5 separate regions of the Homo sapiens genome follow, and all the other regions are linked to region 3. Evidence: promoter capture Hi-C in 16 types of primary human blood cells and fetal thymus (Javierre and others, 2016). All regions are on one chromosome and are shown on one strand. The core of a region is centred on a gene start or on the middle of the fragment in contact, and the rest is flanking DNA. Distances in the headings are between cores, read along the strand shown. Region 1 overlaps LHPP (phospholysine phosphohistidine inorganic pyrophosphate phosphatase). Region 2 overlaps LHPP (phospholysine phosphohistidine inorganic pyrophosphate phosphatase). Region 3 holds the start of ABRAXAS2 (abraxas 2, BRISC complex subunit). Region 4 overlaps LHPP (phospholysine phosphohistidine inorganic pyrophosphate phosphatase). Region 5 has its middle 30 kb from the start of OAT.

What was found. Contacts are between HindIII fragments. The CHiCAGO score rates a contact against its expected background, and 5 or more counts as called.
Region 1: a fragment that was not itself captured here is called in contact with the fragment with the promoter of ABRAXAS2 in region 3 in 17 of 17 cell types (naive CD8 T cells, non-activated CD4 T cells, naive CD4 T cells and 14 more); the score reaches 21.2 in naive CD8 T cells.
Region 2: a fragment that was not itself captured here is called in contact with the fragment with the promoter of ABRAXAS2 in region 3 in 1 of 17 cell types (naive CD8 T cells); the score reaches 6.9 in naive CD8 T cells.
Region 4: a fragment that was not itself captured here is called in contact with the fragment with the promoter of ABRAXAS2 in region 3 in 9 of 17 cell types (total CD4 T cells, non-activated CD4 T cells, naive B cells and 6 more); the score reaches 10.1 in total CD4 T cells.
Region 5: a contact is called between a fragment that was not itself captured here and the fragment with the promoter of ABRAXAS2 in region 3, in 1 of 17 cell types (total CD4 T cells). The highest score is 5.3, in total CD4 T cells.

Annotation. Positions count from the first base shown.
Region 1 is chr10:124,525,402-124,528,101 of GRCh38, forward strand. The region is part of intron 6 of LHPP (phospholysine phosphohistidine inorganic pyrophosphate phosphatase); the gene reads left to right. Among named protein-coding and RNA genes, the nearest start is that of LHPP, 65 kb to the left of the region's middle. The HindIII fragment of the contact is 9,266 bases long and covers 1-2,700 here.
Region 2 is chr10:124,509,300-124,511,999 of GRCh38, forward strand. All of the region lies in intron 5 of LHPP (phospholysine phosphohistidine inorganic pyrophosphate phosphatase), which reads left to right. Among named protein-coding and RNA genes, the nearest start is that of LHPP, 49 kb to the left of the region's middle. The HindIII fragment of the contact is 9,442 bases long and covers 1-2,700 here.
Region 3 is chr10:124,800,392-124,803,091 of GRCh38, forward strand. It overlaps ABRAXAS2 (abraxas 2, BRISC complex subunit), which reads left to right and starts at 1,428. Exons shown (of 9, transcript NM_032182.4): 1 at 1,428-1,510. The coding sequence starts at 1,439. RefSeq lists enhancers at 1,027-1,581, 1,254-1,523, 1,582-2,135 and a silencer at 1,624-1,703. The HindIII fragment of the contact is 5,454 bases long and covers 872-2,700 here.
Region 4 is chr10:124,487,308-124,490,007 of GRCh38, forward strand. LHPP (phospholysine phosphohistidine inorganic pyrophosphate phosphatase) reads left to right here. Exons shown (of 7, transcript NM_022126.4): 3 at 1,115-1,268. Among named protein-coding and RNA genes, the nearest start is that of LHPP, 27 kb to the left of the region's middle. The HindIII fragment of the contact is 309 bases long and covers 1,186-1,494 here.
Region 5 is chr10:124,387,973-124,390,672 of GRCh38, forward strand. No RefSeq gene overlaps it. Among named protein-coding and RNA genes, the nearest start is that of OAT, 30 kb to the right of the region's middle. RefSeq lists a silencer at 1,245-1,534. The HindIII fragment of the contact is 3,581 bases long and covers 1-2,700 here.

The sequences.
Region 1 (2,700 bases), core at 169-2,668, 270 kb before region 3:
AGACGGGTTTATGCCCCCACCACGGGGGGACCCTGTTGCTCCCCGCCCCGACCATCACGAGCTGTTCTGGGAGGGAGGCCCATGTTCTTCCCAGTTTACGGTCCTGGGAGGTTTCTGGACATTGTCAGCATGTGGCAGTCCCGGACGCTGGGCCTCCTGAGAGAGTGGGGAGGAGACCCGAGGCGGAGGCGAGTGTGTGAAAGGAGGCTGGTGGGGTCCACATGGCTCAGCAGGTGAACATGGGGTTTCCAGGGGCAGACACCCCATCGTGGCCCCCATGGCTTTGGTTGGGGCAGCATCAGCTTCCTCCTCTGCTGGGTTTCCTGCCTTCTGTTGGCTGCTGGGGCAGGGGAGACAGGATTGGGAACAGTCACCCTCTCTGGTACTGACCCTCATTAGCATTCTTGGTTCCTGAGCAAGGCTGCTTCATGTCCAGGGCAAGAGGGGAAAGATGTTAAAACCTGAACCCCCCTGCTGGGCTTGGTGCCGCCTGTGGGAAAACCGGTGGGCTGAGGGCTGGGGGGCTCTGAGCTGAGGAAGGGGGTCCCAGGTGGAGGCCGGGAGGTGGCTGCAGAGTGAGGCCACAAGGCCTGGGGGTTGGCCCAGAAGGTAGGACCCCTGTAGGCAGCCTCCCAACCCCAGGAATTTGCCTCTTGGGAACGTGCAGGTCCCTCGAGGGTCCTGGAAGGCGCTGGAGTGGTGGGACAGGGATTGAGGGAGCGTCAGCAGGGCCCTCTCTTCTCCCTAGAGCCGCTCAACACGTGTTGCAAGGCACGTGCTCTGGACCTGGTGCTCACACGTGCTCTTCTCCCAAGACACTCCCTGAAGCGCGTTCCCCAGGAGCTGGAAGGGGGATAACGCAGGTATGCCTCATGGCGGGGCCAGTGCTCATGCTTACACACACTCAGCCTCAGCTCGTCTACACCCTGCAACAGCCCAGAGAAGCCACCCGCCTTCTTACCCCTACCATTTAGATTTGCAAATGGAAGCTCAGAGAGGTGAAGTAACTTGCCCAAGGCCACACAGCCTACCAGTGTCAGAATCGGGATTCGAACCCACCTCTGCCTGACTCCAAGGCCTGTGCCCCTGAACATTCTCAAGCCACCCCCCAATTAGCCAAGTGTTGCTGGAGCTCTGAGCAGGGGCCGGGCCTCACAAAACAATAGTAGCCAGTGTGGGGGCTCACAGGACTGGTCAGCTCCCGCCCTCCCCCGCTTTGGCCCCCTCCACACACACACGACCTGCTGCTGAGCTGGACATAAGCAGGACCTGGCTCTGGGGGCTTCTGACCTAGGGCAGGCCCTGAAGTTGGTCATTAGACCCCACCCACCCACCTGAGAGCCTGGCGGAGATGTGACAGGTGACAGCCCCAGAAGTCCCATCGTTGCTGCCTTTGTGGTTAAAGTCCGCTGAACCCAAGCGCTCTCTTCCCCTCCAGTGTGTGGTGGGGAGGTGGGGAGGGGACCCAGGCAGATCTGGGAAGCCGTGGCCAGGCCGCAGCAAGCAGGGGAAGAAGGGGCCCGCAGTGAACTTGCAGCAGGAGCTGTGGCCACCGTCCTAGCCAGGCCGGCCACCTGCCCAAAATGTTCTCTAACCTTAACATGAACCTGGGCCACTTGGGCTCTGCTGGATGCCCCCAGGGCTGCCAGAGCCTGCCCGCCACAGAGCCCCTCTGAGACCTGGAGTCTCACCTGAGCCCTCTCGCTGCCCACAGGGCTGGCCTCTGCCTTTCCGCTGCTGCTCTGCGGCTCGGGGACACGGCCAGGGCTGGTGGCGCTTACAGCCCAGGGGCAGGGGAGGGCACATCCCCCACAGCATTCACCATTGCTGCTGTGTTCTGATGCATCAGGGAATCTGCATTTTTGACCCTTTGATTGCTACATCTTTTCCAGCCTGGAAAAGTGAAGAAGGAAGGAAAGGGGGCTCAGAGGCCCCTGACTCCTGTCCTTGCAGGCACAGCTGGACGCAGTTCTTATTTTCAACCATCTTGCAGCAGTGGTTTTATTTGTGCACAGGTTCCTCTGTGTCATGGGTGGGTCCCAGGATGTGAACCCGGTGTGCTCCTCTAGCTCCACTGTCCTCAGGTTGGGGACAGCCAGGGACAAGGCCCCCTACTCCAGCTCCAAACGTAGTTCCAGGCTGGGGTGCCCTTTGCCCAGGCCCAGCCTGGTAGCCCCGGGTGCTCTCCCTGACTTTTCATGAGCCCGGGGGCTGAAACCAGAGCAGCAGGGAGACAGAAAAGCCCAGCCCCACCCTCCAGAGGGGGAGTCCAGCTGCCCGGAGACCCCAAGAGCACTGCCAGAATCTGGGTATGAGACCCAGTCCCCTGCCGCGTGCTAACCATGTAACCTTGGACGTGATCTCTTTGTGCTTTTTTTTTTTTGTTTTTTTCTTTTTGAGATGCGGTCTTGTTCTGTTTCCTAGGTGGGAGTGCAGTGGCACCATCATGGCCCACTGCAGCCTGGAACTCCTGGGCACAAGTGATTCTCCCGCCTCAGCCTCCCAAATAGCTGGGAAACAGGTTTATGCCACCACGCCCAACTAATTTTTAAATTTTTTATAAAGATGGAGTCTCCCTGTGTTGCCCAGCCTCCTGGGCTCAAGTGATCTCCCCGCCTTGGCCTCCCAAAGTGCTGGGATTACCCGGCTTGAGCATGATCTTTTTGCCTTGCTTGGCTCTGGGTTTCCTCATGTGTCAAG
Region 2 (2,700 bases), core at 66-2,565, 290 kb before region 3:
GTCATATTCTTGACCATTTCCTATTGATGGAGATGAGGCTGCTTCCAGTTTCGCTCTTGTGCGTAACCCTGATGAACACATCTTGTATGTACATCCTCTTGTACATTTCTAATTATTTGCTCCAAATCCTAGTGGTGTGGCTGGGAGGCTGTGATGCATGTTGCTTATTTCTGTTTCAGAAAGGTGTGTCCGTTCACCTTCCTGACCTGCTGCGTATACAGATGCTTGTTTCCCCACATCCTTACCAACACCATGATTTCTGACTTTTTTTTTTTAAAGTGGTCTTTGAGTTTTGCTGTTAGTCTTGTTCCTTATGAAGGTGTCCGACCACAGTGGCAATTACTCAGCATTGCACTGTCTCCAGGTCTCTGTGGGAGCCTGGGTTCCTTTGGGGCCTGGATTCAGGGCTCATCCTAGAGTGAGCTGTCATCTCAGGGCATCTCCCTGGGGGATATGTGCACCCCAGAGCTGCAGTTACAGACACTGAGCTCACTCCACCTTCACCACCCAGCCCTGCTGCTTCCCGCCCTAATCCTCCTGGCAGAGCCCCTGGATAAGGAAAATATTTGTGAACCACGGAAGCTCTTTGGTGCTGGAATTTTGCACTCCAAAGCATCGCCGCCTGTTAGATGATGTTTCCCTCCAGCACCTAGGACACTGAAGAGGAGACCAGGGCAGGCAGGCAGATGCGTAAGAGGGAGGATTGACTGCTGTAGCACCCGACCCAGGACACCTGCCTCTGGGACTGTGGCGCCTCCATCCGGCTCTCTGGATCCTGGGTTCTGGGGGGTCCGACCTTTCATTTTTTTCTCCGCCTCACACCCCACCATGTCGTGTCTGAAAGGAAGCGAAGCCCAGCCCTGGCAGGTGGAGTATTTTTATTTCCCCTGACAGCGCACCTCCTGACCTCTATCTTCTTGCCAGTGATTTTTTAAATCCTAAATGATTTGGCAATAATTGCTCCTCCTTGCGTGATTATTGCCCTTCACCGATAGTAAATCTGGGAATCCCCTGGGGTCCTGAGCGCACTTTGGTATGCGGAGCCCACAAGCTGGCCTGGACAGGCATCACTGCTCCAGGCAGCTGTGCACCCAGCCGGCCCTGGCGTCCCGGCCCCCAGCCTCCGCCTCCCTCGCCGACAGCTTCCCGGGGCTCTGCCTGGAGGCAGCCTCGCTTTATCCCGCAGAACCTCCACGCTGTTCCTGCATGAGAACTCTTCCTCCAAGAGACCACGTTCCTCTGGTCCTGTCTCCGTGGGCCACATCCACAAATGTTCCAGCCCAGGAAGAACCAAGTCTGTATTCTGGGAGGGAAACCTGTGTGCTGTCTGGTTTTGTATGTGGGAGGAGCATGCACACAGTTTCATTTTCCCCGGAAGCATGGAGGTGTAGGATGACATGTAATATTTGGAAGACCCATTGCATTTCCAAGGAACCTTCTAGCAGGATGGCCCTGGAGTCTCTGGCAGCAGTGGACATGGTCCTGAATTGGAGTGCTGTGAATGTTCACTGCTGACCTCACGGTTTGAAGACAATTCCTTGAGAAGGGCAGAGGGGACCCGAATACGGGGGCTCTGGCCGGCCCTGCTGCCAGATGCCAGCAGCCGTGGGGGCTTGCCCGGCCAGCCCTGGCTTTTCCCAACCCTCAGAGTGCCCCTTGTGCATGCAGCAGACACTGGTGCTGGTCCCATTCCCGGGAGCACGCGGTGCCACTGGCTGTGTCTTGCCTGGCCAGGTGTTGGTTTGATAGACTCGAAAACCTCATTTGGATTTGGCAGGATTTTCCCTAACATCAGTCATTCTGGAAAAAACACTTTGAATTTTTACCATATCTGGGTATTTTTACCATATCTGGGTACTTGCCACTAGCTCTATTTACTTCACGTTTCTTAAAATTGATTCATTTTATTACTTAAATAAATGTATTTTAAAAGGAACTTTTGATGACTACTATAAATGGAAAACCAGAATCTCTCACTTACCATAATAGATTAATCTAAAAATAAAGACCACATGATTACATTAAAATGTATGTCCTTGCTCTGCCTGGAGTCAAATAGTATGTCACCCGTGTGCATGACACACTCTGGGAAGCACAGGGGTGGGTGGAGGAAAGATCAGAGAAAATCCGTGGAAAGTATGAAGTAGAGAGCACCACACCAGGAAGACGTGGTTTTATTTCAGTACCTCATGTCTCGCGGTGGCTTGCGGCTACCAGTAACTGGCAGAATTCTCAACATTGTGGCCCTCAGCCACCTCCTCCGAGCTCTCTCTCAGCACCACCATCCGCCGTGGCTTCTCTGAGGGAGGCCCCTCTGGCCTCTGCTTGACTATGATACATGTCGAGTCCATGCCGAGTGGCAGAAAAGCTCCGTTTTCAGCTGAAACTACCTCCCTGGCCTCAGGGGGCCTCATTGGCTCTGTCTTTGTACTTTCTCAATGGCTCCTGATGATTCCTTGGTTATCTGAAGGCCTGTTTGGGAGACGGTTCCCAGGACAGTTGCTTCAGGCTTATATGTGTGTGCTTTCTGGAATTCACAGCATGGCGTGCCCTGGTGAGTGGTGGGGAGATGGGTAGTGAACACGTGTGGTAGCCCCTGCTGGGCGTGTCCCACCTGTCCTCCATGTCCTACAACCTGGTTGGCCCCTTTTGCTTGTCAGAGCAAAGCTCAGAACCTCACCTCCTCTGGGAGGCCTTTCC
Region 3 (2,700 bases), core at 178-2,677:
TCTCACCATGTTGGCCAGGCTGGTCTTGAACTCCTTGTCAGGCCTCTGAGCCCAAGCTAAGCCATCATATCCCCTGTGGCCTGCACGTATACATCCAGATGGCCTGAAGTAACTGAAGAATCACAAAAGAAGTGAAAATGACCGGTTCCTGCCTTAACTGATGACATTACCTTGTGAAATTCCTTCTCCTGGCTTAGAAGCTCCCCGACTGAGCACCTTGTAACCCCCGCCCCTTCCCACCAGAGAACAACCCCCTTTGACTGTAATTTTCCACTACCTACCCAAATCCTATAAATCGGCCCCACCCCTATCTCCCTTGCTGACTCTCTTTTCGGACTCAGCCCGCCTGCACCCAGTTGAAATAAACAGCCTTGTTGCTCACACAAAGCCTGTTTGGTGGTCTCTTCACACAAACGCGCATAACACTCCTGACCTCAGGTTAACACTCCCCACACACGCCCCCCCCTCCCAAAGTGCTGGGATTACAGGCATGAGCCACCGCGCCCGGCCTCAAATGTTGGCTTTTTGTTTTGTTTTGTTTTTGAGACGGAGTCTTGGTCTGTCACCCAGGCTGGAGTGCAGTGGCGCGATCTCGGCTCACTGCAAGCTCCGCCTTCCAGGTTCACGCCATTCTCCTGCCTCAGCCTCCTGAGTAGCTGGGACTACAGGAGCCCGCCACCACGTCCGGCTAATTTTTTGTATTTTTAGTAGAGACGGGGTTTCACCGTGTAAGCCAGGATGGTCTCAAACTCCTGACCTCGTGATCCGCCCACCTCGGCCTCCCAAAGTGCTGGGATTACAGGCGCGAGCCACCACGCTCAGCCTAAATGTTGGCCTTTTTTTTTTTTTTTTTTTTTTTTTTTTGAGACGAAGCTTCGCTCTTGCTGCCCAGGCTGGAGTGCAATGGCACGATCTCGACTCACCGCAACCTCCGCCTCCCGGGTTCAAGCCATTCCCCTCCCTCAGCCTCCCGAGTAGCTGAGATTACAGGCATGTGCCACCACGCCCGGCTAGTTTTTGTATTTTCAATATAGACAGGGTTTCTCCATGTTGGTCAGGCTGGTCTCGAACTCCTGACCTCAGGTGATCCGCCCGCCTCGGCCTCCCAAAGTGCTGGGATTACAGGCGTGAGCCACTGCGCCCGGCTAGAATGTTGTCTTTTAATACTAAGGTTTCACTTGCAAAGGGAAAGAACTGTTTGCGGAACTATCAACCGCTGTCTGAGGCGTGTCGGGAGCGACACCCCTGCGGAGGATACGGTGCCGGGGTCCTTCCGATCGCAAAAACCGGCGTTCCTCAGCCTTCAAGACTGTGAGCGCTCAGGGCCCTCGGCCGCTGCCCGCCGCAGACTCCACTTCCCATGATGCCAAGGGGTCGGGCCGTCCGGAAGGCCGTGTGCCCTCCGCGGGGCATGATGGGGTAGCTGGAGATTTCCATCATGGCGGCGTCCATTTCGGGCTACACCTTCAGTGCTGTGTGTTTCCACAGCGCCAACAGCAACGCGGACCACGTAGGTGCCGGGCCCCCTGCCGCGCCCGCTGGGGGCTTTCAGCCTCTGTCTCAGGCCGGCGCTCGCGGCCAAGCCGGGACCTCATGCGGCTCGCCCCCTGGGCACCAGGGCCGGCCGGAGGAGCTGGTGACCCGGGCGGCTCCCGCCCCCGGTGAGCTCTTGCCTCTGGGGGCTCCTTCGCCCCTGGGACAGGCCCCCTGGCTTCGCGCTCTCAGCCGCTCGGCCGTCCCGGCACAGCCGTCTCCCGTGCAGCAAAACTGTCCCACCTGGCCTCCTGCAGTGTCAGGAGTCGCTCGGTGGAAACCGAGCGCCTGCCCCTCCCTGAAAGTCAGGCTTCTAGACTTAAGAGGGGCGCACGGGGTCGGGAAGGAATCTAAAGGCCGGGCGTTTAGTCCAGTAGGCGAGGTACTCAGCCCCGCCCGCCGGTCTCGCAGGTTGTCGTGGGGGTGCTGCGAGTGAAACCGTGGCTGTCACTACTGATACTTGTTAGACACGGTTGTGTGTTTTCTTCGCCCTGATGCAAAATGGAGAATGTATACAGGAGCGTTCGGTGCAGGGTCTATTTTGTATTTCCTTGAAGTTGCGTGTTTAGTTCTTTGTGACTAGTTCTTTCACTAGTCACAGTGAAATAGGGAAGTGACAGGCCCACTACTGAGTGATGGGAAATGCATAGGCTGTGAGCCCACAGGAGGAGCAGATCCTGTCTGTTTCAGTGTCTTTATTTTACAAATTGTCTTTTAACGTCATTGGCCTCTGATTGGAAATGCTTTGTGAAACTAGATCACTTCTCTCTTAAAGGAGGTATATAATTTGGCCACCAAATTGGGGGATTATTTTAAGTGATGTTAATAGTGAATGATTCAAACTCATTAAACCTATGTGTGGGGTTTTTGGTTGTCATTACAAAGCAAAATGGTACACTGCAGAAGGAGGAACTGCATTTGGTTTGATGTCAGCAATCTTAGCTTCCATTAATAAAAACTGATTTCACAGGGAGGTGATTCCATTAGTAAATTGAATGCAATTAAATTATTGTACCTTTCATCTCTTCAGTGTTGATGGTAGAACTTAATGATAGGAATAGGAATATATACATCATGGGTTTTTCCAGAAGCAGCTTTGAAGACTATGGCCTAGGGTACTACAACCAGCTATTTAATAATGTAATATAGTTCCATATGTAAGGGTTT
Region 4 (2,700 bases), core at 90-2,589, 310 kb before region 3:
ATATTTTACACGTCCTCCATCTGCTGCAGCTGTTCAGTATCCTCACCAGACCTTGGTGTTATCAGTCTTTTTAATTCTCACCATTCTGGTGGGTATGAAATCGTATCTCATTGTGTATTTCAGTTTCTTTCTTTCTTTTTTTTTTTTTTTTTTGAGACAGAGTCTCGCTCTGTTGCCCAGGCTGGAATACAGTGGTGCAATCTCAGCCCACTGCAACCTCTGCCTCTCGGGTTCAAGTGATTCTACTGCCTCAGACTCCTGAGTAGCTGAGATTACAGGCGGCCGCCACCGTGCCGGGCTGATTGTTGTATTTTTAGTAGAGATGGGATTTTGACCATGTTGGCCAGGCTGGTCTCGAACTCCTGAACTCAGGCGATCCGCCCACCTTGACCTCCCAAAGTGCTGGGATTACAGGCATGAGCCACCGCACCTGGCCTCAGTTTCTTTTCAATTTAGAAAGGTCAACATCTAGTCCTAAGAGAGATGACAGCATGTTTCTTCTAGGATCTGAAAACACAGATCCAATGATTTGATGTATCCTTGCAAATTTTCCTATTTTAATTTAAAATGGGGGAAGACAAAGAAGGAGAAGGAGGAAGAGAGTTTCCTAAGGGAGCTGGTGAACTGGACCTGTGGGGATGGAATTCTGCTTTTTCTTCAGGACATATGTGTGGGGTTGCCTGAAATGTGTCAACGGTTCTTACAGTTTGGGACCAGTAGTGCCAACCCTCCAAGGCTTGTGCAGCCCCATTTCCTCCTGCTGCAGGCTCTCAGTGTCTTCTGAGCAGATTTCCCTTCTCAGTAGCAAAGCTGTGGGTTTCCTGCCTGCGATAGTGACCTCAGGGAGCTCCTGGGGCTGATGTGGTATTGGGATGGAGGGTCCTGGGTGTGTCCACCTTTCTCCTCATAAGCCCTCTCTGAGGAGCCGAATTCCCTCCTCTGTCAAATAGGAATAACCCTTCTGTGTCTACCTCCCATGGCAGCTGTGATGATCAGAAAGAAATGCATCTGAGAAAGGGGGAGGACATGTGAAAGGTGTCCCTGGTAGGAGATGGGGAGGTAGGCCATGTCCTCCCAGGGCTCCGTGGCACTCTGTCTCTCTCTCTCTTTCCAGGAGTCCGCTCAGAATTTGATCAGATCGACACATCCAACCCAAACTGTGTGGTAATTGCAGACGCAGGAGAAAGCTTTTCTTATCAAAACATGAATAACGCCTTCCAGGTGCTCATGGAGCTGGAAAAACCTGTGCTCATATCACTGGGAAAAGGGTAAGTTGGCTCCAGGGAGAGTCATTTCTCGGTGCTTTAGATGATGCTGTGCCAGTCTCCAACTTGCGGAATCAGGCAGAGAAGGATGCAGAAGGGGAGGTGGGAGGAGCACCGGTGATCTTCTTTTCCCTCCCTTTTTCATGCTTTCTCTCTTCATTTCTTTATTCCTCTCCTTTAATCATTTCTTTAGGAAATAGGAACACTGTCTTCAGGAGCTGGTTGATCAAGCTTCCATGTGGAGTCTAGACTAGAAGAGGGCGTCATTGCAGAGGGAGACCCTCTGGAGATCTCAGAGGCCAAGTGTTGATTGTCCCAAGTTTAGAGCAAAGAAGGAGAAGGTGCATTTGCATAGGATGTAGCAGGGTGTTGGAGAATGCTCTCAAGGGTTGTCTAATTAGTAAAACATAGGCTTGAGGGCCTACCCAGTCTGGGCACCGACAGTCTCTGGCCACAGATCACTGTCTCTGTGAAGTTGTGATTTTGTGATCAGTGTTTTGTCTGAGCCTTTAGCACATGCCTTGCCATCTCTTTCTTAAACAAAACAGTGTTGGTTATTTTTAACATTTTTCTTACACTGAGATAGCACATGTTCATTGAAGAAAAATTAGACAATACAGATGAGCAAAAGAAGAAACCAGAAAGTATTTTTAGTCCCACTGCACGAGGAAAACACCTGTCCCTATTTTGGTGTATGTCCTTGCAAGTGGCTTCCTGTGCGAATAGACTATTATGGATGGAGATGTTCACAGCATCGATGTCACACTTGACCTTGTTTTGTCATCTGTTTTTTATTGTTCACCAAACAATATTTGTGACTGACTTAGCATGCAGCAAATGGATATGTCTTGGGGCATGGTTATCTATGGTGTGGCTATCTTGTATATATATATATTTTTTAAGACTGAGTCTCGCTCTGTCACCCAGGCTGGAGTGCAGCGGCGTGATCTCGGCTCGCTGCAACCTCTCCCTCCCGGGTTCAAGCGATTCTCCTGCCTCAGCCTCCTGAGTAGCTGGGACTACAGGCGCCCGCCACCATCCCAGCTAATTTTTATATTTTTGGTAGAGGCGGGGTTTCACCATGTTGGCCAGGATGGTCTCAATCTCCTGACCTTGTGATCCGCCCGCCTTGGCCTCCCAAAGTGCTGGGATTACAGGCATGAGCCACCGCCCCCAACCTCTTGTAATTTTTTTCTTTTTTTTTTTTTCTGCTTATAAGTTTATTCAATGCAAAATAACCCTCACCAGTTTTACTGAGGTGGCTGACCATGTCCACGACCAAATACGCCTGTAAACTGAAATTCGGTTGCTGACCCATTCCCAGCCTCAGCTTTCTCACTGGCACCAGGGGGACAGCACTCCATCTGTGGGTGTCTCTTTCTCTCTATGGCTGTCTGTCTGTGGGTGTCTCTCTCTGTCTGTGGGTGTCTTTCGC
Region 5 (2,700 bases), core at 197-2,696, 410 kb before region 3:
CCGTTACATCAGACGTTTTTATCCAATCAAACTTTTCTAGGACTATCCACTTTTTTTATCAAACCAAGCATAAAAAACACAGGTTTGGCTGGGTGTGGTGGCTCACGCCTGTAATCCCAGCACTTTGGGAGGCCGAGGTGGGCGGATCACCTGAGGTCAGGAGTTCGAGACCAGCCTGACCAATATGATGAAACCCCATCTCTACTAAAAATACAAAAATTGGCCGGGCCTGGTGGCATGCGCCTGTAATCCCAGCTACCTGGGAGGCTGAGACAGGAGAAACGCTTGAACCCAGGAGGTGGAGGCTGCAGTGAGCCAAGATCCTGCCATTGCACTCCAGCCTGGGCAACAAGAGTGAAACTCTGTCTCAAAAACACACACACACACACACACACACAGGTTTACACATTTCTTTGGGTCTTCATTTCCTTATGAAGGCTCCTGCATCCGGTAAAAATTATATTAAATAAATGTGTATGTTATTCTCTTGTTATATGAGTCCCAGGCAGGAACCTAGGACGGTGAGGAAAAGCTCTTTCTCCTCCTATGGCATCCACACACCCAGGGCCTGCCACTCCTGCCCAGCCCAGGACCGTCACTATCTCAGTGACCAGTGGACAGGGCTCAGCAGGGCCACACGGATCAAGGTGGGCCCCAGCCAGGCAGAGACCAGGCCCCGCATCCTCCCACCCCCTGCACAACTTCGGTCCCCCAATCACCAGGGCAGGTATGAGTAAGGCCATTGCACAGTGGCAAAAACTGAGGCCCGCAAGGGCCCAAGGACCACCACTCAGATCCCTCCGGGCACAGCCCAGCCAGGAGCTCCGGGCAGAGTCCCGGGAGGCCCTGCCCACAGGGTCAGAGCGCCCCTGCCCCCGGCCCAACGGATGCGCCTGTCCAGGATCACCACCTGTCAAGCTCGCTGCAGCGCGGGAGGTGGGGTGGACCCTTCCCTGCCCCGGAGCCCACACCTCTGCACGGTGAACCGAGGCGCTCCGACGGGTGCGCGGACAGCACCTGGCACTGAGGAGGTGAACGTGACTCCCACACACGCGGGACTGAACCAGCGCCCCAGAGTCCCCAGAACACGCATGGGCCCGCGGGGCCGCAGCCCACGCCCGGGACAGCCGCCCGCAGTCTACGCAGGGAGGGGCCGCGGGGCTCTGGTTTCTGCAAGTTCTGAATTGTCTCCAAGGAGCATATTCCAACGTCAGAATAATAAACTTTTACAGAACTGTATTGCTCTGCAGCGCGCGGGGGGACTCGGCCCAGCGAAGAGCGAGCGCCCTACAGGCCTCGGCGGAGGAGGGCACGGTCCCCAGCGCGGCTCCTGGCCCCGCCCACGGCCCCGCCCCAGCTCCCGAGCCCCGGCCTCGCGCACGCGCATCTCGCGGGCTCGCAGGACGGCCGGGAAGCAACGCTTTGCGGGCAGCGCCCCCTGCCGTCCCAACGCGCGTGGGGCCCTATGGCTGCGAGCAGTTCCGGCCAAAAGCCCCAGGACCCGGACTTGGGGTTATTGACTTGCGCGTGGGCGCTGAGTCTTGGAGGGGAGGGGACAACTCGCCACACCCCCGTCCTCTCCCTGGAGCTCGAAGCCCCTTTCTGCTGAAATGGGGCCTCCTTTTCTCGGGAAACTGACTTTGGGGGAAACTAAGTCTCAAGGGGATCTTAAAACCCAAGACGGGGGAATGGGAACCTCACAGGACGTGGGGGCGCTTTTCTGGCCATCTCTATATAAAACCTGCCGGGGGCCTCAGACCCTGGCTCCTCTGTCAGTTCCCAAGACCCGTCGCGCGCCCACCTGAGCCCGGTGCCCACTGGATGGGGGCTCAGGCTCACCTGGTCAGTCCTCACCCCCACCTCCAGAGACCAGGCAGTCATGCCCTTCTAATATGGCGGAGGTCCCAAAAGATTATACCATATTTTTACTGTGCCTTTTCTGTGTTTAGCTATGCAAATACTTAGCATTGTGTCGTAGCAGGCTGTGCCATCTAGGTTGTGTAAGTACACGCCATGATGTTCACATAACGAGAAAATCGCCAAAGGACGCATTTCTCAGAACATACACCTGTTGTGAAACCACCCGTGACTGTTCTGTCCTAATTCAACCCCCTCATTCGATAAAGGACAGAGAGGCATTGAGTTGCCAGAGGTCATCCTGGTTGTCAGAGGCAAAAGCAAAACCGAAGCTCTGAGCCTCGCAGCAACCACCCACGCCACCGCCTCCCGTCATCATCAGGAGGCCTCCCCAGGTTTCTGTCCCAGGGAGCGCAGCCGGTGGACAAGTCCCTTCCGCTCTCTGAGCCTCCAGTAACATGAAAACACTGGCAGGAGACCCTCCATGATTCCAGGATTCCTAGAACACTGGCAGGACACCCTCACCCGGTGATCACTCCCAGGTCACCCCACTGAAAGCCGGCAGCTTTCTGTATGGTCTGCATCCATGTTTTTCTATTTCTCCCAGGAGTAATTACTCCATTTGTTCACAGGTACACGGCTTGGCACTCAGGGGCCATAAATTAAAGAGATGTTGTGATAAAAAGGAAGGCAGGAGAGAGTAGGGGCTGGTGGATCCCACTTGCCCTTCACTGCCGGTCTCAGAGACTGGCCTAGGAGAAAGCCACCAAGATCAAAGGCCCCCAGACCCTGCATCCCCATGGATGTGCAAGCCTGAGCTGTCGGTGGTCCTCCCGAACCCTG